Regions from separate parts of the Homo sapiens genome. Here regions 2, 3, 4, 5, 6 and 7 are each linked to region 1. The links are contacts of gene promoters, found by promoter capture Hi-C in blood cells and fetal thymus (Javierre and others, 2016). All regions are on one chromosome and are shown on one strand. The core of a region is centred on a gene start or on the middle of the fragment in contact, and the rest is flanking DNA. Distances in the headings are between cores, read along the strand shown. Region 1 holds the start of SEC61G (SEC61 translocon subunit gamma). Region 2 has its middle 98 kb from the start of LANCL2. Region 3 overlaps LANCL2 (LanC like glutathione S-transferase 2). Region 4 overlaps LANCL2 (LanC like glutathione S-transferase 2). Region 5 has its middle 21 kb from the start of LANCL2. Region 6 has its middle 42 kb from the start of ELDR. Region 7 has its middle 17 kb from the start of ELDR.

What was found. Contacts are between HindIII fragments. The CHiCAGO score rates a contact against its expected background, and 5 or more counts as called.
Region 2: a fragment that was not itself captured here is called in contact with the fragment with the promoter of SEC61G in region 1 in 5 of 17 cell types (naive CD4 T cells, total CD8 T cells, naive CD8 T cells and 2 more); the score reaches 8.3 in naive CD4 T cells.
Region 3: a fragment that was not itself captured here is called in contact with the fragment with the promoter of SEC61G in region 1 in 6 of 17 cell types (naive CD8 T cells, total CD8 T cells, non-activated CD4 T cells and 3 more); the score reaches 8.3 in naive CD8 T cells.
Region 4: a contact is called between a fragment that was not itself captured here and the fragment with the promoter of SEC61G in region 1, in 4 of 17 cell types (naive CD4 T cells, naive CD8 T cells, total CD4 T cells and 1 more). The highest score is 7.8, in naive CD4 T cells.
Region 5: a contact is called between a fragment that was not itself captured here and the fragment with the promoter of SEC61G in region 1, in 3 of 17 cell types (non-activated CD4 T cells, naive CD8 T cells and total CD4 T cells). The highest score is 5.6, in non-activated CD4 T cells.
Region 6: a contact is called between a fragment that was not itself captured here and the fragment with the promoter of SEC61G in region 1, in 1 of 17 cell types (total CD4 T cells). The highest score is 5.7, in total CD4 T cells.
Region 7: a contact is called between a fragment that was not itself captured here and the fragment with the promoter of SEC61G in region 1, in 10 of 17 cell types (total CD8 T cells, non-activated CD4 T cells, naive CD4 T cells and 7 more). The highest score is 8.9, in total CD8 T cells.

Annotation. Positions count from the first base shown.
Region 1 is chr7:54,757,207-54,761,448 of GRCh38, forward strand. It overlaps SEC61G (SEC61 translocon subunit gamma), which reads right to left and starts at 2,005. Exons shown (of 4, transcript NM_014302.4): 1 at 1,952-2,005; 2 at 289-388. The coding sequence starts at 382. It overlaps SEC61G-DT (SEC61G divergent transcript), which reads left to right and starts at 2,107. Exons shown (of 3, transcript NR_110040.1): 1 at 2,107-2,318. RefSeq lists a silencer at 1,655-1,974 and an enhancer at 2,208-3,143. The HindIII fragment of the contact is 2,422 bases long and covers 1-2,415 here.
Region 2 is chr7:55,461,692-55,465,933 of GRCh38, forward strand. It overlaps a transcript of VOPP1 not described here. Among named protein-coding and RNA genes, the nearest start is that of LANCL2, 98 kb to the left of the region's middle. The HindIII fragment of the contact is 3,179 bases long and covers 678-3,856 here.
Region 3 is chr7:55,428,989-55,433,230 of GRCh38, forward strand. It overlaps LANCL2 (LanC like glutathione S-transferase 2), which reads left to right. Exons shown (of 9, transcript NM_018697.4): 9 at 2,238-4,242. The coding sequence ends at 2,332. Among named protein-coding and RNA genes, the nearest start is that of LANCL2, 66 kb to the left of the region's middle. The HindIII fragment of the contact is 2,918 bases long and covers 796-3,713 here.
Region 4 is chr7:55,406,754-55,410,995 of GRCh38, forward strand. The region is part of intron 5 of LANCL2 (LanC like glutathione S-transferase 2); the gene reads left to right. Among named protein-coding and RNA genes, the nearest start is that of LANCL2, 44 kb to the left of the region's middle. The HindIII fragment of the contact is 1,012 bases long and covers 2,030-3,041 here.
Region 5 is chr7:55,341,822-55,346,063 of GRCh38, forward strand. It overlaps the pseudogene LOC100129276. Among named protein-coding and RNA genes, the nearest start is that of LANCL2, 21 kb to the right of the region's middle. The HindIII fragment of the contact is 5,129 bases long and covers 1-4,242 here.
Region 6 is chr7:55,295,200-55,299,441 of GRCh38, forward strand. No RefSeq gene overlaps it. Among named protein-coding and RNA genes, the nearest start is that of ELDR, 42 kb to the left of the region's middle. RefSeq lists an enhancer at 3,946-4,242. The HindIII fragment of the contact is 6,525 bases long and covers 1-4,242 here.
Region 7 is chr7:55,270,782-55,275,023 of GRCh38, forward strand. No RefSeq gene overlaps it. Among named protein-coding and RNA genes, the nearest start is that of ELDR, 17 kb to the left of the region's middle. The HindIII fragment of the contact is 4,625 bases long and covers 1-4,015 here.

The DNA of each region.
Region 1 (4,242 bases), core at 755-3,254:
CCAAAGAGAAAATATGTAAGATACTAAAAGTCATAAAATGTTACTAACTAAAATGTTACATGGAACATAAGGCTGTAATAAATAATCTTACACCATTTGAAAATACATAAAAATTTAGACGAGTAAAAAATTTAGGAAGAAGTGACAACGTTAAAAAGCTGTCGCGCAGGATCAATCAATAAAAATGTTGATCAAAGTAATGCAAGGGCTATTAATCAAGATGTTAATCAAACAAAAGGCTTAGAAAATGCAAAGATTTAATTTTTTCTCTCATAGTCAAGCAATTACCTTTTCTATCAGGTTTAGTGCATCTTTTAACCAGCCGAATGGAGTCCTTTACAAACTGCCGACTTGGCTCAACAAACTGCATTACCTGATCCATGACTGCCTGTTTAAAACAAAAAAGATACTCACTGGTATTGGTTCTCATACAATAAGCACTTGCTCATTTATATAAAGATGTAAATGAGACCAGCCACTGAATTCACGTCTAACATGGGTCAATTCCACCTCCTAAAATAAAACAAAAAACAAACTCCAAAGCCTAAATTGATATTATTTTTGGAAATTTCAGTTAATTATCAAAGGCAATAAGAAAAGCACAGATCTTACTCATGATATCTTCACTGACAAAGAACAGCACACGCAATATAAAAAGCCTATCTCTATTAAAAGGTTAAAAAAGGTTACGCAATTGGTAACACATCCATTCCTTTTCTCACTCTGCAGTCCCATCCATTTCTCATTCTACAGTCCCCTCACCGCTCCTAAGGAACCATCAGTGTTGAGATCCAACAATTACTTTCCATATTTTATTTTAAACTACGCAGAAGCCAGTGTCTTGTACAGTGAATGCCAACTACGGTGCTGCAAGAGCCTAGAATAGAGGCAAACGTGAATTTCAACCTTGATTTTTCTAAAACGTGCCAATACAACATACTTTTCTAAAGTATAAAGAATGGCTAAAGGAAGACGCAAATTCTGAGAAGCTACTAGCTAAATTTCAAACTTTTCGATTTGAACACATCTTTTAAGGAAACAGGGCTATATATTTTACCATACAGGTTCTTTTGAGGAATCTATTACCCAATAGAAATGTTATCCGATCTTAGCTTTGAGAGCCACTGCTATAGTAAGTAAAGCAGCCAGGGTGTTATTTGTATTTTCCTCCATTTCCAGTACTCAGAACAGTGGCCAGGTGGTAGTTCAAATCACTGGCTATGGAATGTAAACCTCTGTAAGCCCCAGTTGCCTTCCTTAGTGTAGGGTGTGGACAACGAAATGAAATAATGTCAATGAAACACCAGGAATTCTGCAACGTTCTGGGGGCAAAAACACAGTAATGTCTGTTTTCTCAGTATTTCACTCAACTTTGCTCTTGAAATCCAAAGGGCTTAAACTTTTTGTAATCATAGTTGTCACGAAGGAAGCTAAGAATTCTTTATCCAGAAAAACGCACGCTACACACAATACCGCACTCAATGTCAGGGGTAGAGATCCAAAAACCAACTATGATCTCTCGAACTAGACTCTAGACCAATGCTCTCACTTTAAACCACGGAAGCGGCGGCAGGACCAGAGCTGAGTACAGCTCTTCCCAGACAGGACTCCACAACAGCACACAGAGCCAACCCCGAAGGGATCGGGCAGCAGGACATCATCTTTGGCTGCAGCACAGAAGACGCCGGGGCAGGACGCTAAGCCCTGGAGCCCCGCGGGCCGGCCACCCAGCTCGCCGGGAGTCCGCGGCCCTGGGTCTGCCTTCCGCCAGAGGCCGAGTTGGTGGGATGTCGGCGGCCAGACCCCGGCCCTGAGCCAGGGGACCACTTACCGCCCGCCCCGCGACGGCCGCCCGGGGAGACACGCCGGCTCGCCCACGCCCGCTGCCCCCAAGAGTCGCAAAGGTGTGGCCGCCCCGTTCGCCCGTACCGACCGGTGGGAAGAAACTCACCTACCCAACCGACACCTAAAATGCCAGGGACACGTAGCACTGGAGCTTGCTGATGGAGGCCCACCGGAACCGGAATCCGGGTTTCTGCCAACAGCCCGCCCACTCCTCCGTCCTATTGGTTCCTTACGCGAAACCTCAGTGCGCAAGCGCAGCGCGACGTGCGCCCGGCCACGCTTCCTGGAAGAGATGCATTGCGGAGCTCGCTAGTTGGGGCGTTGGCCTTCCTTAGGAGTGTGAGTCTAGCGTTATCCCTTTTTTCCGGCTGGATCCCGGGTTACCCCACCAGCCCGACCTCAACCCACTCACGTCCACAGCACGAGCCCCAGCGGCCTTGCGCGGTGCTTGCTCTCTAGTAGCGGCTGACTAGGTAAATCCTAAGTTGTGGTTTTTTTTCCTGCGGTCCAGCTTGATGTGTGTCCTTACGGTACATACTTTTTGTATGTATATAATGTTGGTCGAAATGAAGCTTATGAGCAATATAATGTTATGGCCTAATTCAAAATAGTATCCCCACCCCAAACTTTGACTTTGGCTGTCATTCACGGTAATGAATGCCGCTGTAATTGAGGCCTTTGTCAAACGCTAGGTTTGGTTACGGGAGTGGTCATAATGTACACACAGCTCCCCACTTACCCACAAGGATGCATTCCAGGAACCCCCCGCCGGATGGCTGAAACCGTCAGTAGAGACGGGGTTTCACCATATTGGCCAGGCTGGTCTTGAACTCCTGACCTCGCGATCCACCCGCCTCGGCCTCCCAAAGTGCTGGGATTACAGACGTGAGCCACCGCGCCCGGCCATGTTTCCTTTTAGCAATGGAGCATAACGGGATCTGAGGAACAATATAACTCAGGAAGAGCTGATGGAACATTAAGACGTGTTACAACTCTCAGTGCTTCTTAAACTTCTTCAGTAACTGAAATCTCCTGTTAAGTTTTTTAGTAAATGAAATTTGTAACCCCAGAACCTCCAGATATTGATTCAGTGGGTCAGGGTTAGAGGTCACACACCTCCGTATATCTGACTGTAGGTGGTCCATACACACTACACATACCTTGCCTTAGCTTTAAGAGTCACTTTTAAATTCTGAACAGACTGAGATGCGTTTGACTAGTTCTTCATCCCTGGGACTTCAGCCCATGTGTCATCTCCTTAGAGGCCTATAGTGACCATCTAAGGCAATCCTGTCTATCTCATGCTCTTTTTTCCTTTTTCACAATACCTTCTTCATTTGCTGCATAGCATTTGTATTAACATTTATTTATTTATTCCTCGGTCTGTCTCCCTACACTGTAAATCCCCTTACTAGACCATAAGCTCCAAGTGGGTATAATATAGCATCTAGTAAAGTGCTAAACACAGTAAATGCTCAATAAATAATTTTCAAAAAAATAATTCATTCCAAAAAAACATAAAATCACATGTTGGCAAGTTCACCCCAACCACCAAATGTCTGAGTTGACAGTATTTTCAGCAAAACACAGAAAATCAAGTAACACATACAGTGGTTCCCCTTATCCAAGAAAATCTGGTTCAAAAAGAGATGTGTACCAGAAGGTAATCTGGGAGAGGCCACATTCAAATAACTTTCATTACAGTGTATTGTTATAATTGTCTACTCACCTGATTTCGGGAGTTTGAGACCAGCCAGACCAACGTGGAGAAACCCCGTCTCCACTAAAAATACAAAAATTAGTCTGGAATGGTGTCGCATGCCTGTAACCCTAGCTACTCAGGAGGCTGAGGCAAGAGAATCCCTTGAACCCGGGAGGTGGAGGTTGCAGTGAGCTGAGGTCACACGACTGCACTCCAGCCTGGGCAACAGAGCAAGACTCCGTCTGTAAAAAAAAAAAAAAAAAAAAACAGGCTGATAACAGCAAATCTGTGCAAAAATACGTAACAATCAGAACTCTAGAACTCTAATTCCTGGTTACTAGGAGTGTAAAATGGCATAACCCTTTTGGGAAAAGTTTAGTAGTTTATCATAATATGAAGCATATATACACCACCTATGGCTCCACAATTCCAATTCCAGGTACTTATTGAAGATATATGAAACTAAATTCACAGAAAGACTTGTACAGGAATGTTCGTAGTAACTTTATTGATAACAGAACTAAAAGCAACAGGGTACCATCAATAGAATGAATAAACATACAGGTATAGTCCCACAACAGAATAGTACTCCATAGCTAAGGAAAGAAAACTCTCTGCCACAACATTGATGAATGACAAACATGGTGAGTGAAACAAGCCTACGCTAAAGAAGGCACAGTGTGCAGTTCCATTTG
Region 2 (4,242 bases), core at 1,017-3,516, 700 kb after region 1:
AGACGTGAGCCACTGCGCCCGGCCCAGCTAGTCTATATCTTTCAAGTGGGAAATGTAATCAGTTCCCATTCAAGGTTATTACTGATAGGTGAGGACTTATTCTTGCCATTTTGTTAATTGTTTTCTACTTGTTTTGTGCATCCTTTGTTCATTTCTTCCTCTCTTATTGGTTATCATTGTGGTTTGGTGGTTTTCTGTAGTGGTAACATTTGATTCCTTTCTTTTTCTCATTTGTATCTGCTCCACCAGTGAGTTTCATGTTTTCATGATGCAAATATCAGCCTTTTGCTTTCAGATGTAGAACATGTTAAGCATTTCTCGTAGGGCTGGTATAGTGGTGATGAATGCCCTCAGTTTTTGCTTGGCTGGGAAAGACTTTATTACTCTTTAATTTTTGAAGGACAACTTTGCCGAGTATAGTGTTCTTGCGTGACAGTTTTCTTTTTCCTTTAGCACTTTTAATGTATTATCACATTCTCTCCTGGCCTGTAAGGTTTCTGCTGAGGAATCTATTAGTCTGATGGGAGTTCCCTTATATGTGATTTGACACTTTTCTCTTATTGATTTTAGAATTCTTTTTTTGTCTGGCTTTCAACAGTTATAAGCTGAAATGTTCCTCAAGTGATAATATACCTTGGGGAAGACTTTTTCGGGTTCAATCTATTTGGGTATCTTTAAGCTTCCTGTATCTGGATGTCTAGATCTCTTCCAAGATGTAGGAAGTTTTCAGCTATTATTTCATTAAATAGGTTCTCTATGCCTTTGCCCATCTCTTTTTCTTCTATAACACCCAATATTCAAATTTCATTTGTGTTGTCTCATAGGCTCTCTCTTTTGTTCTTTGTTCTTCTTTTCTTCTTCTTTTTTTGGGGGGTTGGACTGGGTTATTTCAAAAGACCTGTCTTCAAATTCAGAAATTCTTTCTTCTGCTTGGTCTAGTCTATTGTTGAAACTCTTGATTATATTTTTTTTTTTTTTTTTTGAGACGGAGTCTCGCTCTGTTGCCCAGGCTGGAGTGCAGTGGCGGGATCTCGGCTCACTGCAAGCTCCGCCTCCCGGGTTCACGCCATTCTCCTGCCTCAGCCTCCCAAGTAGCTGGGACTACAGGCGCCCGCCACTACGCCCAGCTAATTTTTTTGTATTTTTAGTAGAGACGGGGTTTCACCGTTTTAGCCGGGATGGTCTCGATCTCCTGACCTCGTGATCCGCCCGCCTCGGCCTCCCAATATATTTTTAACTTCATTCATTGAACCCTTCAGTCCCAGTATTTCTGTTTGGTTCTTTCTTTATGATATCTATCTCTGTTGAATTTCTTACTCAGATCATAAGTTGTTTTTCTGATTTCTCTGTATTATTATTTATTTCTAGTTTTATTCCATTGTAGTCTGAAAAGGTACTTGATATTATCTTAATTTTAAAATTTGTTGAGATTTATTTTGTGGCCAAACATATGGCCTATCCTGGAGAATGTTTCATGTGCTGACAAGAAAATGTATTCTGCAGTTTTTGTTCTATGTTCTCTTGTATCGCACTGAACTTGTTTAATAACATTATTTAAAATTCTTTTTTGGGCATTTCATGTATTGCTTTTTCATTCAAACCTGTTCCTAGAGAATTACTGTGTTCCTTCAGAGGCATTCTGTTTCCTTGCTTTTTCATGTTTCTTATATCCTTACACTCATATTTGTGCATCTGGTGTAACTGTCTCTTCTTTCAATTTTATGGATTGGCTTTCATAGGAAAAGACTTTTCCTGATAGATGTATCTATTGTATTGGTTGGGTAGGATGCTTTGGCTTTTATTTTGGGTGGGGGCAGTAGTTTAGTTTCCATATTTCTTCAGCTATAATCAGTGTCAGTGGTATCTGTGAGTTCCTCAGTGGATTGGCTGTGGTTGTTTGGGGAGGCTGTGGCGAGGCTTTGCTGGGGATGGGGATGCCAGGTGGGGCAGTCTTTGGGCCCCAGTGGTGGTAGTTGTGGGTCAAGCCTGCTGATCTTCCTCTCCCACCCCCGCTCCCCAGCAGTGTGCATGACCTGCTCAGTGGGTGGGGTGGATTGATCCCCAGGACCCTGGATATTGCATGTGGTCACTGATAGGGGATGTGTCAGCCAGGGCGGGCCTGCCCTCAGGCCCCACAATAGTGCACATAGATGCAGGCTACAGCAGGCAGGGCTGGTCAATCCCCAGATGCCTGGACAACATGTGCAAACTCCGGCAGACTGGGCAGGTCTCTTCTCAGACCAGCAGAGGCATGTGCAGATGCTAATGGCAGCAGGTGGAGTGGATTGATCACCAGGCCCCAATGTACATGGCAACTGGCAGGGATGACACTGGGCAGTATAGACCTATCCTCAGCTCTCTCAAGGGTACACACAGGCACAGGCTGTGGTGGGTTGAACAGGTTGATCCCCAGGCCCTCAGATGGTATGTCTGGGTACCAGCAGCAGTGGCAGAGTAGGGGGCAGGCCTGTCATCAGAACCCACGATGGTGTGTGCAGGCACTAGAAGTGGAAGGTGGGATAGGCTGATCCCATGGTCACCTTAACAACATGCATTAGTGTGGGCAGAGGTGGTGGGCAGGTGGCCTACCTGATGGTGCATGCACTTGCCAGCTGTGGTGGGCAGGGCAGGTTGATCCTCAGGTCCCCTTTATGGCATGCTTGGGTGCCGGTGGTGGTGATAGGTGCAGCAGACCTGTTTTCAGTTTCCAGGATGGTGCCTGGCAAACCAGTTTCCAGGTCCCTTGAAGGTATCTGCAGGTGCACAGTGGCCCTGCTGCTGGAAGTTGGGGGATGGGGTTGCTGTCAATGGCGTGGCCCAACCCAGGCAGCTCTCAGGCTTTGGGGAGCATGAATTCCAGTTCCCTTTGTTCTGGTGACTGCCTCCCCAGTGCACAGTACCACTGATTCCCTGCAGCATAGAATACTGTATGAGTCAGAGTCCTGGGAATCTGGCTATACTGCTGGGTCCAGCCAGTGTTGTGATGCTGCAGCCTTCTGGATAGATGTCAGTCAGGGGATGTCAGAGGGATGTGGAGATACAGAGGCTGTTGAGTCCCGGGGAAGGATGTAGTCTGGTGGAGGCTGGCCTCTCAAAATAATGCCATGCTGCAGGTGTCTTGATCTTGGGGTGTGTGGGGGACCCAGAGTGAAGTTCTTCTCTGGACTAATGGCATTGGAGGACTTGAGGATGCTCCTTAGACTAGTCTCAGGGCCCACAAGGGCTGAGGGGCTCTCCTGTGGCTAGGACTGTAAGAGTCAGTGTGGCAATGTAGACTGCTGAAGATCTCTTGCTTACCTTCTCTCTGCACTGGGGGGTTTCTCCTGGCTCCGAGCTGATTGCAGCTGGACCAGCTGCTTTGCTTCCCTCTCCTTCCAAGCCTCAGATGTTCCCTGTCACTTCTCTGATGAATTCCATTGTTCTCTTAGAAGCTCCACTTGTTATGTGATTGTTCAGTTTTGGTCCTTCTTTGTGCAGAAGTGCCAGGTGTCGCTAGTCAGCTATCTTGAAACCCTTCTCTCTGGATGTACAAAATACTGTTTACACTTCGAGGTTTGTTCTGGGATGCTCGCAGATCTCATCCCATATAAGTAGTGAGGGAAAAAAGAGGTGGTTGCCTAAGGTTTCTCCTTCTATCTCTGATTGGCTCAACATCCACTGGGCAACACACATCAACCTTTCAAGACAAGAACGGTAGGTGATGTGTGGAGTGGTGATGGTGTATGTGAAAACCCTTGGCTTCCTTTACATGATCGTAGTCTGAAAGATGGAGACTACATGGAGAATGTCTCAAGAAAATTCCTCCTTTCACACTCCTCTGACGATACCACAGACCGACTCCTCACAGATGAGCAAAAGCTTGGGTGGGAGCTTATTTCTTCTCCCACTGTGCTTCAACTTCTCAAGGAATTGTAGAATGAGAGAGAGCAGAGGATTTTTAATATTTGCTGATTATCCACTATGTGCAAGCTTCGTATAAACAATAGGTAGTATAATCTCCATTTTATAGTTGAGGAAACTGAGACTGGAGATTAAATCATTTGCTGGAAGACACAAAGCCAGTAATTAGTAGACTCAGGACTTGAGCAAGACTGTCCATCTTCAGAGCCCACAGTCTTTCCATGACACCAGCAATGCACAGTTAGGTCCACAGGGACTCTCTCACATCTACTCTGTGCTCTCATTCTTGGCATCCAAAGAATGTTAGGCACTGAGAACCGCTATGGACTGAATGTCTGTGTC
Region 3 (4,242 bases), core at 1,005-3,504, 670 kb after region 1:
GCACAAACAGAAGCCCCACAAACAGGCCCGGATATTCGTTAGATTTGTATGTGGGTATGGGCGTGCTTTCTGTTTGCTAACATTTTGGTAAAGGTTTTTGCATCTCTATTCATGAAGGATATTGGCCTACAGTTTTCCTGTCTTGTGCTGTCTTTCTCTGGTTTTGGTATCAGGGTCATACTGACCTAATAAACCATGTTGAGAAGTATCTTCTTCTCTTCTGTTTTCTGGGACAGACTGTGTTAATTGGTGGAAGAATTGGTATTAGTGTAACTTAAATGTTTGGTAGAATTCTCCAGTACAAACTTCTAGGTCTGGAGATTTATTTTTCTAGACTTTTAAAATAAATTCCGTTTTTAAAATAGTTATAGGGCTGTTCAAGTTATCTATTTCATATTGGGTGAGCTGTCATAGTTTGTAATTTTTGGGAAATTGGTTAATTACGTACATGTGGTGAAATGCAAATATGTAAGCTATTGGTATTCCTTATCATCCTCTGTCTGCATCGTCTGTAGTGGTATGTCCTGTTTTAGTTTTCATACTGGTAATATTTTTAAATCATATTTTAGAAATACGAGCAGAAAACAGAGCATGTGTCACATGTTTTGCAGAAGATGATCTTTTTTAATATTCAGAGAACTCATAAGGAAAAAGTACTTACTAGAATAAAAGTTGTAGTCCTCTATGTCATAAAAATGCAATGCATTTGCATCAGATATAACAGAGTTAATGCCTGAACTCTAAATGGAGTTTATCAACTTGATAATAGCACCTTCAGAGCCCCAGTGGGTCAAAAGCTTTGGATGTACAGCTCCCTAAAGGCGGGAAGTTAATAGGTCACCTCCTTCCCCTGTGCCTCGCCAGTGCCTGGCAGACAGAACTGTGGGGGACTCTCACCAAATTCCCGTCAGGGGACGGAGGGATTATTAAGCCGTGTGCCTAGCAATGCAGGCCATTGTGGCAAACTGGCCGGCTGGAGGAGCCACTGGGAGGGCTCACTGGCACCTGGCACCCCTTCTGGAGGAGCTCACTCCTGCTGGAGTGCACCGCCCAGTGGATCCGCTGCCCACACACCTGAGCAGGAAAGCCAGGCTCATCCCCGCAGGGCCTGCTGTAGGGCCTCCTAGGCTTGTTATGGGTCCCTGTTTACTTCTCATGGGCACTCCTAGGTCAGTGGTTTTCTAATTTTTTAAACAAGTTTCTGGAACCTTTCTTTAAACAAAAACTTACAGAGAAGGCTGGGAACACCCCAGATGACCGTCAGTAGGAAAAATGGGTAAACAATCTGCAGTGTACTGTTCAGCAGTAAGAAGGGGCCAACTATGAACAGGCACAGAACGTGAATGAATTGCAGGAACCCTGACGAAGGAGCCAGATACAAGGGCTGTACACTGTGGCCATGCTCATAAGAGTGCCAGAGCAGGCAGAACTAATCCATGGTGGACCAAGACCAGGCTGCTGGTTACCTCTGGGGGGACCACAGGGATGGGAGGGACTGGAGAGGGGCACTTGGAACTTCCTGGGGTGATGGAAATATTCCAGGTCTTAATCGGGTTTTGTTTGCACATGTATATGCATTTTACAAACCTCAGAGAAGTACATTTTGGATTTATGTGTTTTATTGTACGTGAATTTTACATCAAAAGAAAAACTGTAAACAAAAACCCTGTAAGGGAGGATTGTTCTGATTTGAGTGGGGACAGGAGACCTGGAGGCCTTGGTGGGCTACTAGCACCTTCTCCACCCCACACCCTTCCTAAGCTGCTGTGAGTCTAGTTGAAAACCCACTGCTCAATTACTGCAATGATTTGGGGTGGGGATTTTGACCAAATTGAGGTTTGTTAAAAATAACATTCTTCAAATATCAAGAAGATATAAAATGCAACTTTGAGCATATACAGGCTCTGAGGGGAAGCTCCGTGTATAGGAATATCGTAATTAGCAGCATCCATAACTTCCATAGCGATTCTGTGATGCCACCTTAAAGTTTCAAGATATAAGATTAAAGCCCAGTAACCAGTTTTTTAAATATAAGATAGTGAGGAAAACTGGTGTTATTATATTACCTGCCAGGTGCTAAATATAAGGATATCTTTGGTTTTTAATGAAGTCATCTTTAGAGTCCTCAGCACCTTTCCCACATGCTTGCAGCCCCTGGTAAGGGAAATGATTAAAAGTCACTGTTATAGACACTACCCTTATGCCATTCCTAAGAGGCTCCTCATTTTACATTGCAGGCATGGCTGGCGCTATTCACTTTCTCTCTGATGTCCTGGGACCAGAGACATCACGGTTTCCAGCATTTGAACTTGACTCTTCGAAGAGGGATTAAAAGGTGCAAAAAGACAACTAAAATACCCATTTGGACCAAAAGCCACCAGATTGCTTAGTGCCTGACACAGAAACAACTGGGAATCCTGAAAGAGAAGCAGACACCGTCACAGGCCCCTCTGGTTAGACTAGCATGAGTGACCGAAGCCATCCATCAACATTTTCTAACAGCACCCTCATCAATATAAAATATGACTTCTTCACATACAGATTCTCTGTAGTGTTTGCATGTTTCTTGGTGTTTGTTGTCTCCAGGTGTAAGCTGTTTTAAATGGAAGGCCCTTCTATTCCTGAGGGCTCAGAGCTGACCATGCATGAATGTATGGCAGTGTCCACTTTTCTGTATAAAATGTATAAAGTGGGGTTTCTTCCATATTGACAAATGAGGGAACAGGTGGTGTCTATCTTGTATATCAGAAAGATTATCTAGGGTCTATCCTAGTGATAATACATTGTCAGCCTTTTCTGTGGCACCTTCCAGATGAGAATGAGGGAGCGACCACTCCAAGGACGGACAGGACCAGCAGTTCTGCAGGGGCGTGCTGGGGTGGTTTGGGAGTGCACAGCTGAACGCTTCCCGTTTGGATTTTACACTCACCTTCGTGTTTTAAAGAAGCCTCAGAGTGCATTGCAGCTCTGTCAGGGCCCCATTCCCAGCAGAGGCTTCAGGTGCTTTGTGTAGAGTCCAGGGCAGCTGGAGCTTTGTTGGGGAGACTTCTGGACCCAAAGGGAGCTTTCCCAAGAAGCCTTTGATGGCCACACTGTAGGCAGCAGTGACTAAGCACTGGCAGTTCCAGAACATTTACCCAGGTATATGTTACTAAAACAGGCTCCACCTCAGTTTATCAACATTATAAGTTACTGTTCTAAGAAAAGTAAATACAGTTCCAGATGGGTTATTGCAGATTAACAGAAAGACACTCAACTGGACTCATGTCCCTGCAATTAAACTTACTTCAACCTTTTGGAAAGTTATCAAAATCTAAATTTGGAATGAATGCATTTCCTATTTTTTGTCTACTTTTGGGTGATAAAAAGTACTAGCCCTTATTTATAGATATGAGAAACATAATGTTCTAACCAACAACATTATGGTATTTGTGTGACTTTTATTTGAAAAAATGTGAGCAGTAATTTGGGTTAGCCTACCTTCATTAATTCTATCACATAGATTTCAGTTTTTAGAAGGGTTTCTGTCATCATGGAAGAGGTGGTCTGGGACTAGGTACTTCTCGTCTTGTGAGCTAAGGCTTGTGTCATGAAAGACAAGAGGCCTCTCTTAACAGCCCAGTCCTTGTCTGCAGGGGGAGGCCTGAGCATTTCCCAGCCCCAGTGTCCACACCTCTCAGAAAAGAGAAAAAAGAATGTCAGTTTAGGAGAAAAGCTTCCTTTTTACTTGTGTGGTTATGTGTGGGGCTGGCACCCGAAATGTGTGACATTCAGCTTCTAAACGATGCCTGGAGAGTCTGTTTGCTGCAGACACCCTTGCTCCTGAGTCATTATTTTCTTTCATGTTAGATTGATGACTTCTGTGAATAGAAATCATCCTGATCCTATTTTACCTGGCCTCCAGGGCCTGTTGATGGGCTTTGCAGGCAGTCCAGCAGCCCACACCTGCAGGCAGGATGCTGTCGTCAATGAGCTGAGGGTAGCTGCTTTGCTGAAGACCTCACACGATGTCCAATCTCATCCAAATAACATTGTTCCCATCCTCCCCACCCACCACATCAAAACATAACACATCACAGCACTCAGTAGAGGTCCTGCCTCCCCATTTCTCAAGGGAAGCCAGTAGGCAACACAGCCAGCACGGTGCTCTCCAGGGCAGCCCCTCTCAGACGAGGAGGCAGCGGGTGCAGCCAGGTGTCTGCAGAGCAGCCACAAAGGTGGCCTAGGATGCGGGTGTCTCCC
Region 4 (4,242 bases), core at 1,286-3,785, 650 kb after region 1:
AGAATAAAAACAGTTCGCCTCTTGAAAATAATCTCAGAACAACCAGAAAAACAACAAAACAGAAACCGAAGTTCTTTGATGAAGCTAGGGGACATCTGGAGCTCCAGCTGCAAACCTGTGAACTGAAGCAGGCAAAAGAATGACAGCTGACCTGCTGGGATGAAAGATGGCGTCAGTGCCCGAGGGGGACGGTGCCCACGAGAAGCAAGTCAGTTTGTTCTACAGAACCCCAGAACTCAGGAGGGGAAAGTGCCATGTCCCCAGTAGGCATTGCCATACGTGGGCTTGGGGGACTCTCTGGCACAGGAGGCTTCTTTGAGCATGTGCAGTGGTTGGACCTCTGTGAGCACCTGCACCCAGCACAGGGAGGGAACTGCCTATCCTTCAACTCGTGCTGGAGACAAAAGGAGTTAGGTCTGGAAAAACTGACTAGGCTCTTTTCAATTCAGGAAAGCCAGATGTAGAAGAGAGTTGGAGTGAAGCACAGAACTAAAAATAGGGGGCGAGAGTGAGTGTCCATGGTCCAGGGTGAGACTGCCTCTCTGTCACCGCCAGCCTCAGGCACCGTCACCTCTCCCTCACCCCAAGGGGCAGCACCACCTCCACCCCACTCGGGGCTTGAAGTCACTTTTCCGAAGAAACAAGTAGCTCAGATAAAAGTTTCATAAGTACAGGTATTTGAAAGCCCCCATTAAAAAGTTAGTCTGCCATCCATGATGGTTAATTTTATGTGTCAACTTGACTGAGCCCTGGTGCCCAGACATGTGGTCAGACATTCTGGATGTTTCTTTGAGGGCGTTTTTGAATGAGATTTACATTTAAGTTGGTGGACTTTGAGTGAAGCCAGCTGCCCCATAGGATGTGAGTGGGCCTTGTCAATCAGTTGAAGGTCTGACTAGAACAAAATGCTGGACCCCCAGGCAAGAGAGGATTCTCCAGCACTCTGCTTTCAGACTCCAGCTGCAGCTCCTTCCTGAGTCTCCAGCTTGCTGGCCACCCCAGGCAGTTTGTGGACTCATGAAGCCTCTGCAGCCAGTTCCTTGGAGTGAATCTCTTTCTCTACTTTTACACATCCCGTTGGTCTACTTCTTTGGAGACCCCTGGCAATCCCCCATCCAGCCACTCCACAGTGATTCCCACCGTTCCGCAGCCCCTCCGGTGCACTGAGGACAGCGAGGAGCTGTGCCTTATGCGTGAGCACAGACCAGTAGCCGATGAGCGGACATGGCAGAAAAGCCCCAGCTTGAAAGATGGAGACCTGAACAAGTAGAAATAAAAACAAAGAGAAAGCAGGAAGTGGAAGAAAGCTTCGAATAAATAATAATTCATAATTAATATCCTCAGGGAAATAAGAGAAGCTGTTGCATCCAAGAAACAAACATTTGAGGGAAAAAGAGAGCTCTTGAAAATAAAATATATAATAGCTGAATTTTTAATAAGTTCATGAAAATGGGAAGCAAAGTCACATATCTTAGAAAGCAGGCAGAAATAGACAATGGGAGAGGAAAACGTAAGAAAGAGGATTAATCCAGGAGGTTCAGCATGTGACTAGTGGGAGACCTAGTGAGGGAGAACACACAATAGGAGGGAGGAAAATAACACAAAAATATGCTCTAGAAATGAGGGACATAGGCTGGGCGCAGTGGCTCATGCCTGTAATCCCAGCACTTTGGGAGGCCGAGGTGGGCGGATCACTGAGGTCAGGAGTTTGAGACCAGCCTGGCCAACACAGTGAAACCCCGTCTCTACTAAAAAAATACAAAAAATTACCTGGGCCTCATAGCGGGCACCTGCAATCCCAGCTGCTTGGGAGGCTGAGGCAGGAGAATCGCTCGAACCCGGGAGGGAGAGATTGCAGTGAGTCGAGATCACGCCACTGCACTCCAGCCTGGGTAACAGTATGAGACCCTGTCTCAAAAAAAAAGAAAAAAAAAGAAATGAGGGACATAGTTGCATATTGGAAAGACCTACCAGTTTCCTACACAATGAGTGCAGACAGACAAATCCACATCATGCCCGTTATTGTGAAAGCTTAAGATAAAGGGATAAAGAGACAATGCTTAAAACATTAGACGGGAAATAGCTGGGTGTAGTGGCATGCGCCTGTAGTCCCAGCTACTCGGGAGGCTGAGGCAGGAGAATTGCTTGAACCCAGGAGGTGGAGGTTGCAGTGAGCCGAGATCGTGCCACTGCACTCCAGCCTGGGCGACAGTGAAACTCTGTCTCAAAAAAAAAAAAAAAGAAAAGAAAAAAACAGGTTATGTACAAAGTCCAAAAATGACATTGGACTTTGCAACAGTTTCATTGAAGCTAAAAGATAAATGGAAATGATTTCCAAGTTTTTTTTTTTTTTGAGACGGAGTCTTGCTCTGTTGCCCAGGCTGGAGTGCACTGGCGCGAACTCGGCTCACTGCAAGCTCTGCCTCCCGGGTTCATGCCATTCTCCTGCCTCAACTCCTGAGTAGCTGGGACTACAGGCACCTGCCACCATGCCCGGCTAATTTTTTTTTTGTATTTTTTAGTGGAGATGGGGTTTCACCGTATTAGCCAGGACGGTCTCGATCTGACCTCATGATCCACCCGCCTCGGCCTCCCAAAGTGCTGGGATTACAGGCGTGAGCCACCGTGCCCGGCCAACTTCCAAGTTTTGAGTAAAAATGATTTCTAACGTTGCATTCTGCCCAGAAAGTTACCAATTAAATGTGGAGTAGAGCAAAGACTGTTTAAAACATCCTGTCCCCCAAATTTAATTTCCCTGTACTTCATCTCAGGAAGCTACTGGAGTGTGGTGTCTACCACAACAAGGGAGTACTCTAAGAAGGAGGATCAGATCCAGGGAAGAGGGGCTCCCATACAAGACAGGGGAGCAGAATCCCCAGGAAGTTGACAGGTGCAAGTCCCAGGACAGCAGTGTCACAGAAGACCTGGAAAGCAGCCAATTATGGAGAGTCGCCTCCAGGGAAAGCAAAGTCATAGTAGATTTGACCATGTGGAAAATCTTATCGAGAGACTTTTTACAGAGCTGTTGGTGGGTATGAAAAAGCTTAGGTACTGGTTTAAAGAAAACTAAGCAAATAAAATGTGAGAAAGTTACTCCAGGAAAAACTAAAAGGTGTAAAAGAATATCTGTAATTCAGTGTATTTCCTGTTTCAGGAGCAAACAATATTTGCATAGTATAGTCTGTAAAGAACACAGGATTATGGATGGTGACCAGAGTGAAACTAAAAATGGTGACCAGAGTGAAATTCTCTTGGGAAGATCAGAGGAAGGAAAGTGTCCCTCATCTGCCACAAGGGGAAACCTAGAATCAGTAACTCAGGGCACAGCCATGCATGGATTGTTTAGAAATACTGTGGTAATATGAATAAGCAGCTAACAACCACCACAACAAAAAGGAACTCAGTTGTGTCCTAGGAACGACATGGTCTGTTGGTCTTTGAGATAAGCTCCTCAACATTTTTTGACATTTTAAAGTGGTTCTGTATTGATTACCTGTAAGAAAGTAATTTTAAAAGTACCATGTAGCCTTTTGGAAATAAACTTAATGACCTATAGTTTTTAAAAAGCTAATATATTCTCTAAGTGTGTATCAGGAAAAACACCTAAAGATTTTCTACTAAGTATAGTTTTATTTCAATGAAATTTAGAAGTATTGATATTCCTTAAATTAGCTTTCCTTCATTTTTAATAAAATTAACTTTTTGTTGAAGAAATGAGGTTTTTATTTCATTCTGTAGGAGATGTCATGTTGTAAACTTTGGTGCTTATGGAATGATGAGAATTTAAAGCAATGCAATATTTTATTTCAGTTTTGAGAGTACTTTACGTCACCCCTGACATGTGCAATTAAAGCCAAGTGAAAAATCAGTGGCCAGAGGCGGGTTCTCTATCTCAGACTTTAGCAATATGCGGATTTATGTGGTGCTAACATGTCACTTTAAAGACATTGTGTGGTGTTAACATGTCACCCTGAGACGTTCTGTGGTGCTAATATGTCACCCTAAGACGTTTGTGTGGTGCTAACCTGTCACTCTAAAGATGTCGTGTGTTGTGAATGTGTCACCCTAAAGACATTGTGTGGCATTAACATGTCACTCTAAGGATGTCATGTGCTAATGTGTCACCCTAAAGATGTGAGGTGTTAACATGTCACCCTAAGATGTTCTGTGGCACTGTCATTCTAAGGATGTCATGTGGTGACATGTCACCCTGAGATGTTGTGTGATGTTAACATGTCACTC
Region 5 (4,242 bases), core at 1,168-3,667, 590 kb after region 1:
TATGTTTTATAGCCCAATCTTCCAGACTGCTCTTTGTTAGAAAAAAAGTAATTTCTTTAAACTGTGTGTGGTTAAAAAGAAAGTAATTTCTTTTTTTTTTTTTTTTTTTTTTTTTTTGAGACGGAGTCTGGCTCTGTCGCCCAGGCTGGAGTGCAGTGGCGCAATCTTGGCTCACTGCAAGCTCCGCCTCCCGGGTTCACGCCATTCTCCTGCCTCAGCCTCCCGAGTAACTGGGACTACAGGCGCCCGCCACCACGCCCCGCTAAGTTTTTTTTAATTTTAGTAGAGACGGGGTTTCATCGTGTTAGCCAGGATGGTCTTGATCTCCTCACCTCGTGATCCGCCCGCCTCGGCATCCCAAAGTGCTGGGATTACAGGCGTGAGCCACTGCGCCCAGCCAAAGAAAGTAATTTCTGAGCTGCTTTTTGTTAAAAGGAAAGTTTTTGCCGGGGACTCTTGCACCCTATCAACCTAAATAATTTCTATCTTCTGTATAGGAGTCCAGGGGTCAGGGCAGAGGCGCAGGTGGTGCGACGCCACGGAGTTGGTCCCCATGGCCGTGAGCCAGCCCCAGCGGCACAGCCGCCCTGTCCCCAGCGGCATCTAGGTGATGGCCAACTCCAGGCCGCTCTCCAGCTGCTTGGCCTGGCACCTCAGCTCTGCCAGCTCCCGGAAGCAACAGGCCACCAAGCGGCCCCGGGCTCCCGTGGCAGTGAGCCCTCTACTCTGCTCTCAAAAACTGATGCCGCCAAGGAGCCCGCCATGGCCAGCCCTGCTCAAAGCCAGGGCCAGCCCCGGGAGCCAAGCCGCCAGGCAGCCTTCCTCCAGGGAGGGTCTGGAGGCTGAGGGGGGGCGGCCTGCGGGTGACCAAGGAGATAGCCATGCAGCGCCACGTGGGGGACCTCCGGCTGCTGGGGAGTCCCCGGCCACACCCAGTTCCCCAGGCCTGGCCTGGCAGGATGGTAGCTGCCTCTAAGAGGGGAAACCCGAGTAAGAAAAGCGGGACCCCAGCCGCAAAGATGGTGCCCAGGAGGAGGACAAGACCAAGGACAAGGGCTGAGGGCAGCCCGGGGAGATGCCCGGTGTGGACAAGAAGGGCCTGCAGGCCAGCAGCCCCTGCCGCAAGGCAGAGCGGGGGAAGCGACCAGTAAGAAGCCATTTTCGGCCACCGAAGTCCATTTGCTGCCCCAACCCTCCCAGACAGGAAGCACACGAAGGCCCCTGCAGGGAAGCTGGTGGAGTGGAAGGCCTGCTCGCTAGACCCCTCCCAGGACGCCCCAAGCTGAAGAAGCGGGTCTTGAGCCACCCTGATCTCTTCGGAGACCAGAGTGAGGACGAGGCCCCGGAATCTGTGGCGCCGAGGATGTGGGCCCCTGCCCTCCCAGCCTCAGCTGGGACTTAGACTCGGTCTCCAGCCTGGGCTTCGGGGAGGCTCAGAAATCGCCCAAGCGGCTCAAGGACTCCCCGCCCCACTCCCCGGCCCATCCTACTCCTCCTCCTTCTCCTCCAGCGCGGGCAGGATGTGGACTACTCAGCCCTAGAAAAAGAGGTGGACTTCACTCCGACCCCCTGGAGGCGTGCCTGTGGATCTTCGACGAGTCCACTAGCGTCAACACGGAGGACAAAGGTCGACTGGCCTTCAGCCCCCCAAGGAAGAGACCTTCGGGTCTGACCACTCTGTTCAGAAGAGGATGATATCTTTCCAAGCAAGGCCAGGAGGCGGAGCCCTAGAGGAGGAGTCCCGCGGTGCCCCGCCCACCGGCGCAGGAGTTAGTTGGCTACCTGCCGGCCCAGCACGCGCAGAGGAAGTAGGTGAGCTGGCTGCAGGCCGCCCCCAGGCTAGCGGAGAGCCGTCCTCGCTCCAAGAGGATCGCCCACGTCCCCAAACCCGCTTGGCTGCAGCCCCTACAGAAAACCCTCGTGGCCAGCTGCAGCCAGACCCCCAGTGAGGCCCCAAGCCCCTCAGCCAGCTGCTTGAGACCCGCAGGTGGTGAGGGATGGCGTCCAAGACCACCACCATCATCACCCGTAAGCGACTCGCCCACAGTCCATCCTTACAGAGTGTAAAGAGACCCATTATCCCCTAAGAGTTTAGGGGCAGTCACCACCGTCATCCGCCAACGCCATCTCAACCTGTTCATCCAGAAGTGTTCCGTTCTGCGCCACCAGGAGGCTATGGAGAAGGCGCTGAAAGAGGAAACGATGACCTGAGACCGGCAACCCCGGAGAAAACCTCTACCTGAACTGCCACGAACACCCTCCCAGAGCTCAGCCGCCTGGGAATCCCCGAGGCCACAGGATGTGTCCCGGGAGGAGGAGTTGGTGGGCAGGCTGGCCGCCGGGACCAGCTTCTCGTGCAGCTACTGGAGCAGCCCCCGGTGAGGAACCTGAACCAGGCCGCCCTGTGCAGCCCCTTGAGGAGCTCCTGCTAACCCAGGCCCAGCTCAAGAACGGCTCCCCGTCCCACACCCACCGCTCCGTCTTCTTCACGGCCAAGGAGAAGAAGCCCAAGGACTCCTCCTGCAGGACCTGCTGTCCCGCGGCACCGAGTCCCACGTGTCCTCGTCGAGCTCTATGTCCGCAACGAGGAGTTGCTGCCACTGGGGGCGGCTGGGAGACCCGGGGTTGCGCGGCGCCATCAGGTCGCTGAGCTCACCTGCCGGCGGAAGGAGCGCCTGGAGGGCTTCGTGAGGACGTTTGAGAAAGCTCTGGGGGACGCCTCCCCACTGGGACCCATGCCCTGGACTGTTGGGCGCCCTGCACCACGCACGGCCTGGAGCTGGCCCGGTAACGCGGCCACAGGAACGTGGTGCGCGACGCCTTCGTCAAGACCGACGGCTTTCTTGCCGACATTAGCGTCAGCTGCAGGCAGTCCTGCTGAACGTGTTCCGCTTGGCACCAACACCATCGTCACCCGCACCGCCTGGAGAGCGGCCTGTGACCTCTTAGGGTATCCACAGCACGGAGGTGGACGAGTCCGCGCTCTCCCCAGCGCCTGGGCCTCCCCTATAAGTGCTCTCTGCGGAGCCTCACGGCCGACCACGTGGGACATCTCACCCAGAGACGCATGTACAGCACAGCTCCCGCGGGGGCGCGGCGCCTGCGTGCATCCGGCTATCTGGAAGGTCCGAGAAGACCAAGCGCTGGCGCCCGCCCGCCTCTCCTGCCGCCCTAGGCCTCTTCCAAAACAGCGCCATACATCTCCACGAGGCCAGGCAGCTCAGAGCAGCGGGATGAGCGGACGCCGAGAACGCGACGCCCAGCAGACCCGCCCAGCCCAGCCCGCGCCCCGCCCTGGCCTCTGGCGCGCGTCCCCGCCCCGCTCTCTGCAGCCCCCAGTCCCGCAGCCCTGGGCCGTCTCCGCCCCTCAGCCCCACGGCCCGAGCCGCCAAGAGACCCTCGCACCCGCCCGCGGCTCCAACCAGGCCCTCATTTCCGCTCCGGGCTGCGGCAGGCGCCTCTGCTTCTCACACGGGGCGCCGGGTGGGCTGGTCTCAAGTTTGAGACAGGCTTTTTAAATTCTATATTGTTATTTGTATTATTTTTAATGTAAACCTGATGAATTGCACAGTACCTTCCCCACTGAGAAGAGCAGGGGCCCGGCGCTGGCTTCCCTCCTGGGGCATAGGGACCGGACAGACCCGAACAGGAGCCGGGGCCACGGCCACACGCGGCCTAGCGTAGGTTGGACACGCCTCCCGGGCTCTCGGAGCTGGCCTGCTTGGTGGGAGCCGGCTTCTGCAACCTACCTACCGCCCCCTGCGCTGGACTCCGTTACCTCTGAGAACCAAAGAAGCCCCTCGCCAGCCCCCAGGGCCCACTGGCCTCCAAATGCAGTCTTCCTGCAGGAGCACGCTCCTCGTCTGTGGGGTTCTCTGTACCCCTTCCCCCTCACCCCCAGCATGGACAGAATAAATGGTAGTATAAATAAATGCTGGTTAAAAAAAAGAAACCACAAAATAAAAATTATACCAGTTTACACTGCTACTCCATATTCTTGCCAACACTTAGTATTGAAATTCTTTTGAACTTTACCTTTCTGATGGATTTGCAGTGGAATCTCACTGTATAATTTTGATTTGCATTTATCTGAGAATTTATGATGTCGAACAATTTTCATATGGCTGTTTAGCCACTTCAGCATCCTTTTTGGTGAAGAATCACTTCAGGACTGTTCCCCATTTTTTCCACTGTGTTGTTTTTTTCTCTTTAATAGGAGCTGTATACATTCTAGATAAAAGC
Region 6 (4,242 bases), core at 1,097-3,596, 540 kb after region 1:
GCGATGCCCCACCCTGCTTCAGTTCACCCTCCATGGGCTGCACCCACTGTCTAACCAGTCAACTAATTAGAGCCCTTTTATATATTTTTAATAGTGAAACATTGTGTATGCAACACATAAATACATAGACATATTGAGCCAGGAGAATAGGGTAGGAGACAGGGAACGTAAGGCCCATTTGTGCTGACTTCCTAAAAGAAAAAACACAGCCGGGCACGGTGGCTCATGCCTGTAATCCCAGCACTTTGGGAGGCCGAGGTGGGCGGATCAGGAGGCCAGGAGATTGAGACCATCCTGGCTAACACAGTGAAACCCCGTCTCTACAAAAAAATACAAAAAATTAGGTGGGCATGGTGGTGGGTGCCTGTAGTCCCAGCTACTCGGGAGGCTGAGGCAGGAGAATCACTTGAACCCAGGAGGCGGAGGTTGCGGTGGGATGAGATCGTGCCATTGCACTCCAGCCTGGGCAACAAGAGCGAAACTCCATTTCAAAAAAAAAAAAAGAAGGCCAGGCGCGGTGGCTCACGCCTGTAATCCCAGCACTTTGGGAGGCCGAGGTGGGCGGATCACAAGGTCAGGAGATCGAGACCATCCTGGCTAACATGGTGAAACCCCGTCTCTACTAAAAATACAAAAAATTAGCTGGGCGTGGTGGTGGGTGCCTGTAGTCCTAGCTACTCAGGAGGCTGAGGCAGGAGAATGGCGTGAACCCGGGAGGCAGAGCTTGCAGTGAGCCGAGATCACGCCACTGCGCTCCAGCCTGGGCAGCAGAGGAGACTCCGTCTCAAAAAAAAAAAAAAAAAAAAGGAAAAAGGAAAAAAAAGACAAAACACCAAGGCCTGGGGGGCAGGGAATCTAAGGCCCATTCAAGCTGACTTCCCAAAGCTGGATAAAAGGAAAACACCTGGGTCTGTGGGCAGGTAACCTAAGGCCAACTAACACAAACTTCCTACAGCTAAATCAAAAGAGAAAAACCCTGTCTCCCCACCCCAGGTAACAAAGGATCAAAGGCTACTCTTGCTACAGCCCTCCCACTTCCGCCACGTCTCAGGGGGAAAAGGAGAGTGCCTTGGGTTGGCTATGGGCCAAGCAGGGGACCTTCCCTTCATCTGCACAGGGCGCCAATTCACCTCAGCCTTAAATTAGCCATAGACCAAATCCAGATAAGCGGTAGCCAATAAGAACCTCAAATGGGCCGGGTGGCTCATGCCTGTAATCCAGCACTTTGGGATGCTGAGGCAGGCAGATCACGAGATCAAGAGTTTGAGACCAACCTGGCCAATATGGTGAAACCCAGTCTCTACTAAAAGTACAAAAATTAGCCGGGTGTGGTGGCAGGTGCCTGTAATCCCAGCTACTCGGGAGGCTGAGGCAGGAGAATCACTTGAACCCGGAAGGCAGAGGCTGCAGTTAGCTGAGATCATTCCACTGCACTCCAGCCTGGGCAAAAGAGCAAAACTCCGGAAAAAAAAAAAAAAAAAAAAAAAAAACCTCAAATGGGGTACTTAAAGCCCAAAACAATTTGTAACTGGGTCCTTGAGCTTGTTGCTGGGGCCCACTCTCACCCTGTGGAGTGCTTTCTCGCTTTAATAAATTCCTGCTTTCACTGCTGTGTTCCTGCATTTCATTCCTCTGCTACTTTATTTGTGAGTTTTGTTCAATTCTTTGTTCAAAATGCCAAGAACCTGGACAACTTGTAGTCAAGACCCTCCACCGGTAACAGTATTAGGCATAACAGTAGAAGTACATCTTATCGATTCATAAGACCTTCTCTTTTTTTTTTTTTTCCTATCTTAGACTTGCAAACTCTTGATAACCTGTTTCATTACTCTGGCAGTTGTCAGTTAAATAGCCCTAAGTCTGCATATTGAAGGAAATAATTCTTAGGTGAAAAATCAGCAAAATTTACATCTCAAGGTACAGAGAGAAAAAGTCTGGTGGTGCTAGAGGGAGATTAAAGATGTATGCCAAATCAAACATAAAATTATAGAAATCTATCATAGGATTGTCTAAGGAGACCAATTTATTTAGATAGAGACTACCTATATTTTAACTGGATCTCTGAGCTCTGGGCAGAGCCATCACTGGAATCCTGGGTCTCCAAAAAGGGAGAATTATTATGAGGCTAGACCACACGATGCTTTTACAGTGCACTTAAAAAAAAATTTTTTTTTTTTGAGACAAAAATTTTTTTTTTTTTGAGACGGAGTCTCGCTCTGTCGCCCAGGCTGGAGTGTAGTGGCAGGATCTCGGCTCACTGCAAGCTCTGCGTCCTGGGTTCATGCCATTTTCCTGCCTCAGCCTCCAGAGTAGCTGGGACTACAGGCGCCCGCCACCAAACCCGGCTAATTTTTTTGTATTTTTAGTAGAGACAGGGTTTCACCGTGTTAGCCAGGATGGTCTCGATCTCCTGACCTCATGATCCGCCCGCCTTGGCCTCCCAAAGTGCTGGGATTGCAGGCGTGAGCCACCGTGCCCAGCTACAGTGCACTTAAAAATGTTTTTAAACAAAAACATTTATAAGTGTCTAAACTACACTCTTCCTTAAAAACACACAAGAGTAGTCTCTGTTCCAATAGCTATTTTAGTAAAAAAATCAGGTAACACAATACAAAAGCAAGCAGTTTAAGAGCTGAGATGAACTTGTCTGTTTACACTCTTGGGGTTCCATAAGGAAAAACAGAGGTTTCTCCCCAAAAGGGAGTCTGGCACCTTTTCTGTTTTCTTTAAGGAATCCCAATCTAATCTACTAAAACTATTTTAGGTCTCTCATGCAGCAGAGGGTGCAAGAGAAAGGGGAGACAGCAGAAGTAAATGAAGAAAACAGAATTCATTCAACTAGAAGAAAAAACTTTTGCTGAAAAAAAACAAGGTCCTAGGAGAAAAAAAACAAAAACAAAAACATGAAGGCCTTTTAAGTACAAACACACACACACACACACACACACACACACACACACACACACAGAGGAATCTTGGATGTTAGCTTTTAATTAAGCTGACCTTTAGTCCAGTTGAGCTCCTTTAAAAAAATCTTTTAAAATCTCATTACCATATTTCCGCTAGGACAAATTCCTGCTATTTCAGAAGTACCAAGTATCAAATGAGAAAGGGCTTGATTTGGGAACCAAATCCAGGCTCTTGTGGTGAAAAGAGAAGGCAGAACTTTAGCTATGGAACTGCAGCACGGGGCGACAGCCATTGCTCTTTCCGTTTGGCCTGGCTAGCAAAAAGGTGGCCTCGTTATGTTAATAAAGACCCTTAAGTACTCAAAATAAAAAATCTTTCCTTTTTGTTTCCCTTTTGCTGGCCATTTTTCTCCCCCCACCTCACCACCTTTTTGTGTGTGTGTATGGGAATTTAGCCACTTGGGAGTCCTCGTTCCCATAATTTGGAACTTCCCTTCAGATTTGATCAAGTCAAATAGAGTTGGTCAAACCCAATGGAAGAAAGACTGAAACAACAAGAACAACAGAAACAATCAACCAACCAAAAAAAAAAAAAAAACCAGTTAAGCAAAACAAATGATCCCACAACTTATACTATTACTGAGCACTGTAACACTAAGGAGAAATTAAATTTTAGCCAAGACAAACCCCAATTCAGTTACTTACCTAGGGATGGGTCTCAGGCCGAAGACTGCTCTCTACTATCCTAGATGCAGGAGAAAACTTAAACTTGTCTTCCCTGTTGGAAGAGAGCTCAAACTCCATAAAGGAGTCCAGAAGGAGCTTTCCTTCAACATCAAAGCAGGAAAACTTGCCTTCCTTGTGTTAGAAGCAAGTAAAACTCAGAGAAGAGGAAGTTGTACAGCAAAATAAACTTTAGATCTTGACCAAATTTTGGGAGATCAGGAATTCTCTGGAGGGGGTACTTCCAGGCCTCAGCAAATTGTCCTACTCATTCGAACCATAAAGATAACTCAAATTGGTACCAAGAACCGATGGGAGATTTGTCAAAGGTCAGGGGCACCTCCACTCAGAATCCCTCAGTGGTTACCAAAATGTGAACCCCAAATATCTGAGACAGATCTCAGTTAATTTAGAGAGTTTATTTTGCCAAGGTTGAGGATGCGCACCTGTGACACAGCCTCAGGAGGTCTTGACAACATGTGTCCAAGGTGGTTGGGGTACAGCTTGGTTTTATACATTTTAGGGAGACATGAGACATCAATCAATATATGTAAGAAGTTGATTGCTTCCATCTGGAAAGGAAGGACAACTGGAAGCATGGAAGAGGCTT
Region 7 (4,242 bases), core at 453-2,952, 510 kb after region 1:
ACACACAACACCACCAGCCTGTCCTTGGGTCTGACAGACTCTGGACCCCACACCTGACCACGAGGCCCTGCCTCAGAGTTCTGTGCAGCTACATGGGGGCTGAGACCCTCGTCCATCCCCCAGGGACCAGTTTCCCACCTTGGGCCTTAACTGCCTCCTTGAGGCACCCCCACACCCTACAAAATATGACATAGGCCTCCCAAACTTCAGAGCCTGGAACAAACACCCCACCCCTGGGAGATGAGGGCTTTGTCCTCACTCCTGTCTCGGGGTCACTTCCCTGAGCCCTGTTTCTTGTCCCGGCATTAATGGCATCTTGGGATGATGGCCAATGGGAACTCCCTCTCCCACCACCATCCCCAAAGACCACCACCCCATAGTCTAACGTGGTGACATCTCCCATGGTTCTCTTATTGAACTTGGAACAAACAGCTTTTAAATCAATTTCACAACTACTCCTCCTACACTACAGCACCCTCCAGTGGAGGAGAAGGCCACCGGGAGGCCCTGGGTTTCCATCCAAAGAGCAAAAATATTTAAAGCCTACAAACCTCCCCTCAAGCTCCACGAAGCCAAGGACACAACTTTAAGGAAACTAAGCTGTAGCAGCTGCCATCCCCACCTCTCCTGGCCTCTCCTTGCAGGCTTGGGTGGAGCCTGAAGGGGGTGAGGACATGCTGGAGAAAAAGTCACATGGGAAAAAAAAAAAAAAACACAGGCAAGACAAGGACGACTTGCCAGAAAGTCAAAAGCATGTTGACAGAAGGCCACCTTGGGGTGGGCCAAAGAGCCACACGATTATGGCCAACAAGCACCTCACGCAAGGAGAGGCCGGGCATGGGACACCAGCTCCCCCTGTGTAGCCCCATGTTCGTGACCATGCTGATCAGCCTGCAAAGGCAGTGATGGCGCTGGGAAGAGCATGCTGCACGAGAGGAAGGCCACAGCTGAACAGAGGCAGCCAGAGCATGCTGGGACCTGGAAATGGGAGGCACATAGTCCAGTTCTCCTGACAGCAGAAGGTTCCTGATGTTCTCTTCTAAGTGTGGGCACTGCGGCCAAGCCTGGACCTCAGATGCACGCCGTGGAGAGGCTGAGGAGCAGGCAAACTTGCACTTGTGTCCACGTGCAGCTTCCTCGTGCAGACCCCAGCACCAGACACAGTGCTGCCAGGCTGACAACCCAGGGCCACAGCCTCCTGCATAAACAAAACAGGCCAATCAGGGTGCCCCATGCCTCCAGACCCCACAGAATAGGATCCAAGCAAAAGCAACCAGAACGTCCATGAATAGGGGAGAGGACATTCGAGGACAAAATTCTCCTTCCTTACCCAATTGCCAACTGCAGGAATTGTGTGCACCTGGAGTGCTGGAGTTCATCTTTTCCACAGCAGGGAAGGTCCAGCCAGTGCAGAGCAGAGCTGAGAGGGCGGGAGGCTGACTTCTGGCAGGCACTGACAGCCTGACCCCACTGCTGCTGAAGAAACTCACTAAACTAGTTCTGAGAGTCAGGAAGGACCCTTTTCTTCCTGACCTGATTGTATTTGGACTTCTATCATTAGTCCTAGCTAGAACAGAGGGAAATCTGCCAATCTTACTTCTAAAATTAGGACATATATTGAGCACAGCCCCCCGGCTCCCACACCCTTCCCCAGAGTTCATGTGAAACAATGAACCTGGGGGCAGCAGACAGAGCATCCTCACGAGGCCTGGCGCTATGCCAGATGGGCTGGGCCACTGGGGCAGGGAGGGGGAGCTGCCACCTCACATGAGGCACATCAGGTGCCTTGGGCAGCCTCAGGGTGCCAAGATAGCCAGAGAAGCAGAAACTCCAGAAATGCCGTTTCCCTCCAGAAGGACTGGAGCCTCAGAATCAGGAACATCAGCCCTTTATCCCAAGCTCCTCACTCCAGACAGCAGGACATGCCTGCTTTGAGGTGCCACCCTCAGAAATCCAGTCATCCAGAAGTACAACCAAATATTGCTGGACAGAGCCTGTTTGGGACTCTATAAGGGGTTTCTTGGGCCAAGATGGAGCTATAGGACTGCTATGGGCTGAGCTGTGTCTCCCAAAACTCCACCTGCTGAAGCCCTAACTCTTCACGTGATTGTATTGGAGACCGGGCCTATCACCAGGTGATTAAGGTTAACTGAGGTCATGAAGGTAAGCCATGACCCAATAGGGCTGGTGTCCTTATAAAAAAGGAGGAGATGTCAGAGCTCTCTCTCTCCCTCTCTACCATGTGAGAACACAGCAAGAAGGTGCAGTCTGTCTGCCAGGAAGAAAGCCCTCACCAGAACCAAACCCTGCTGGAACCTTGATCTTGGACTACTCCAGCCTCCAGGACTGTGAGAAAATAAATGTCAGATGTTTAAGCTGCCCAGTCTATCAGGTTTTGTCATGGAAGCCTGAACAGACTGCAGTGAGGACGGCAAGGATCTCTGGGTAAATATCTCCCAGGGTGATTCCCTCCTGGTACTCGGATTTTCTGGACCTGAGAGAACACATCAGTAGCCTGAACTCTATATGCTAAAAGAAGAGGGCCTGCTGTGCCTGCCGCTGACTGCCTGTCAGACACCCCAGCGTCAGACAGGATCGGCATGGAAGGTCAGGTCCCTGCTATGTGACACCTGCAGACCTGTAAGGTGGATTTTACGGCCAGGAGCCCATCTTCCCTCACTGAAGAAGTCAGGACTGCTGGCACCAACCTTGAAGAAAATCAACAGGCAAGGTCCTGGTTCAGGACCCACTTTGACAACTGGGCCATGGTTTGGGGACATCAAGTGGGCAGAGTGAAGAGGGCCTTCCAATTCCAAATGCCCAGGGATGTCAGAGACTGGGCTGCAGCCAGGAACCTTCCTTGGACAGACAGTCAGCAGGGGAGCCGCCCGGGAGAAGTTCACAGAAAGCAGCCTGACCCCACTCGAGCTCCAGGAAGGTGGGGACCGTGTCTGGCTTGGTTCACTGTTTTCCTCCCGCACTTGTGCAGGAGGCTACCCCGGCTGATGGTGCCTTCCCTGAGCAGGGGAAATGCTGGGCCCTTGGACAGGTCCTGGCAGCCTTCCCGCCATTGCCATCACTGCAGTTGGGCTCCAGGCAACAGTGACAGGGATGCTCCATGTGTTCACACACAAAGGACATCTGTCCTGGCCACCCAGTGTGATTTCCCGTCCTGTAGCTCTCTTCTGGGTTCTTAGGATGAAGGCCAATTCTCACCTCTTCTCGGCAATTCCTTCTCGGGAAAGCCATCCTGTCAGGGAGAGAGGGACTGAACACGAAACAGAATTCATCAGAGGCTGCTGGTGCTGGCAGCCTCGCTGGCTGTATAGCCATAAATCCCAAGGCCCACCACCCTGCCCAGTGACCCTCCATATTTCTAGAATCCATTTGCTCTCCCTTCCCCTGAAGATTTTTTTCACAACCGCTCACTGCTCAAACTCCCCACACCCCTCCCTTCTCCTCACTCTCCAACCACGGCATCACTTCTTACTTTGCTGAGTGTGCACATGCAATGATCTTCTAGTGCCACCACCTCTGCAGGATGTTCTGCACCTGGGCCCGGTGAGGCCCTGCCCACTTTGTGGCTGCTGGCGAAAGCCCTCGCTCCTTCCTCAAGCAGTCCCTCCCACTCGTGTCAACTCAAGGACTGTGCACCTATAATTATCTCCTCTCCCTTGGGCATCATCAGTTCCCCCCATCTGCTGACACCACCCCAATTATTACCATAAACACACAACATGTTCTAGTATCTCCCACCTTTCTAGACCATGCCCCCCTGAGCTGCTGCACCCTCCGTGGCAGCTCCCTGCAGGACCCTTTGCCGGCCCTCCCCTCTCTCTCATCCACCACCCACCCCTGATGTGAATAAGAGCCAAATGTTCAGATCACTAAATGTCTATTCCCAGCCCCAACATCTTCCCTGAAATCCAAACTCAAATATCCCAATGCCTACTTAGATGTCTAGTAGGTGTCTCAAATTCAGAAAAATCAAAACAACCTCTTACCAAATACCTTAAGCTTGTTCCCTCAGCCAACCCCATTTCAGCAGATTACACCTATATTTTCCCCATTGTCTCAAAGCAAAACCCGAGGAATCTTTATTAACTGCTGTCTTTCCCATACATGCTGAAATTCTTGCTGGAATTCAGCAGCAAGTCATGCTCACTCTTCCTTCATGAATTCCAGATCCACAACCCCTTCCCCTAGCCTGCAGCCAAACAGGCCAGGCGTGCAGCCGCCTCT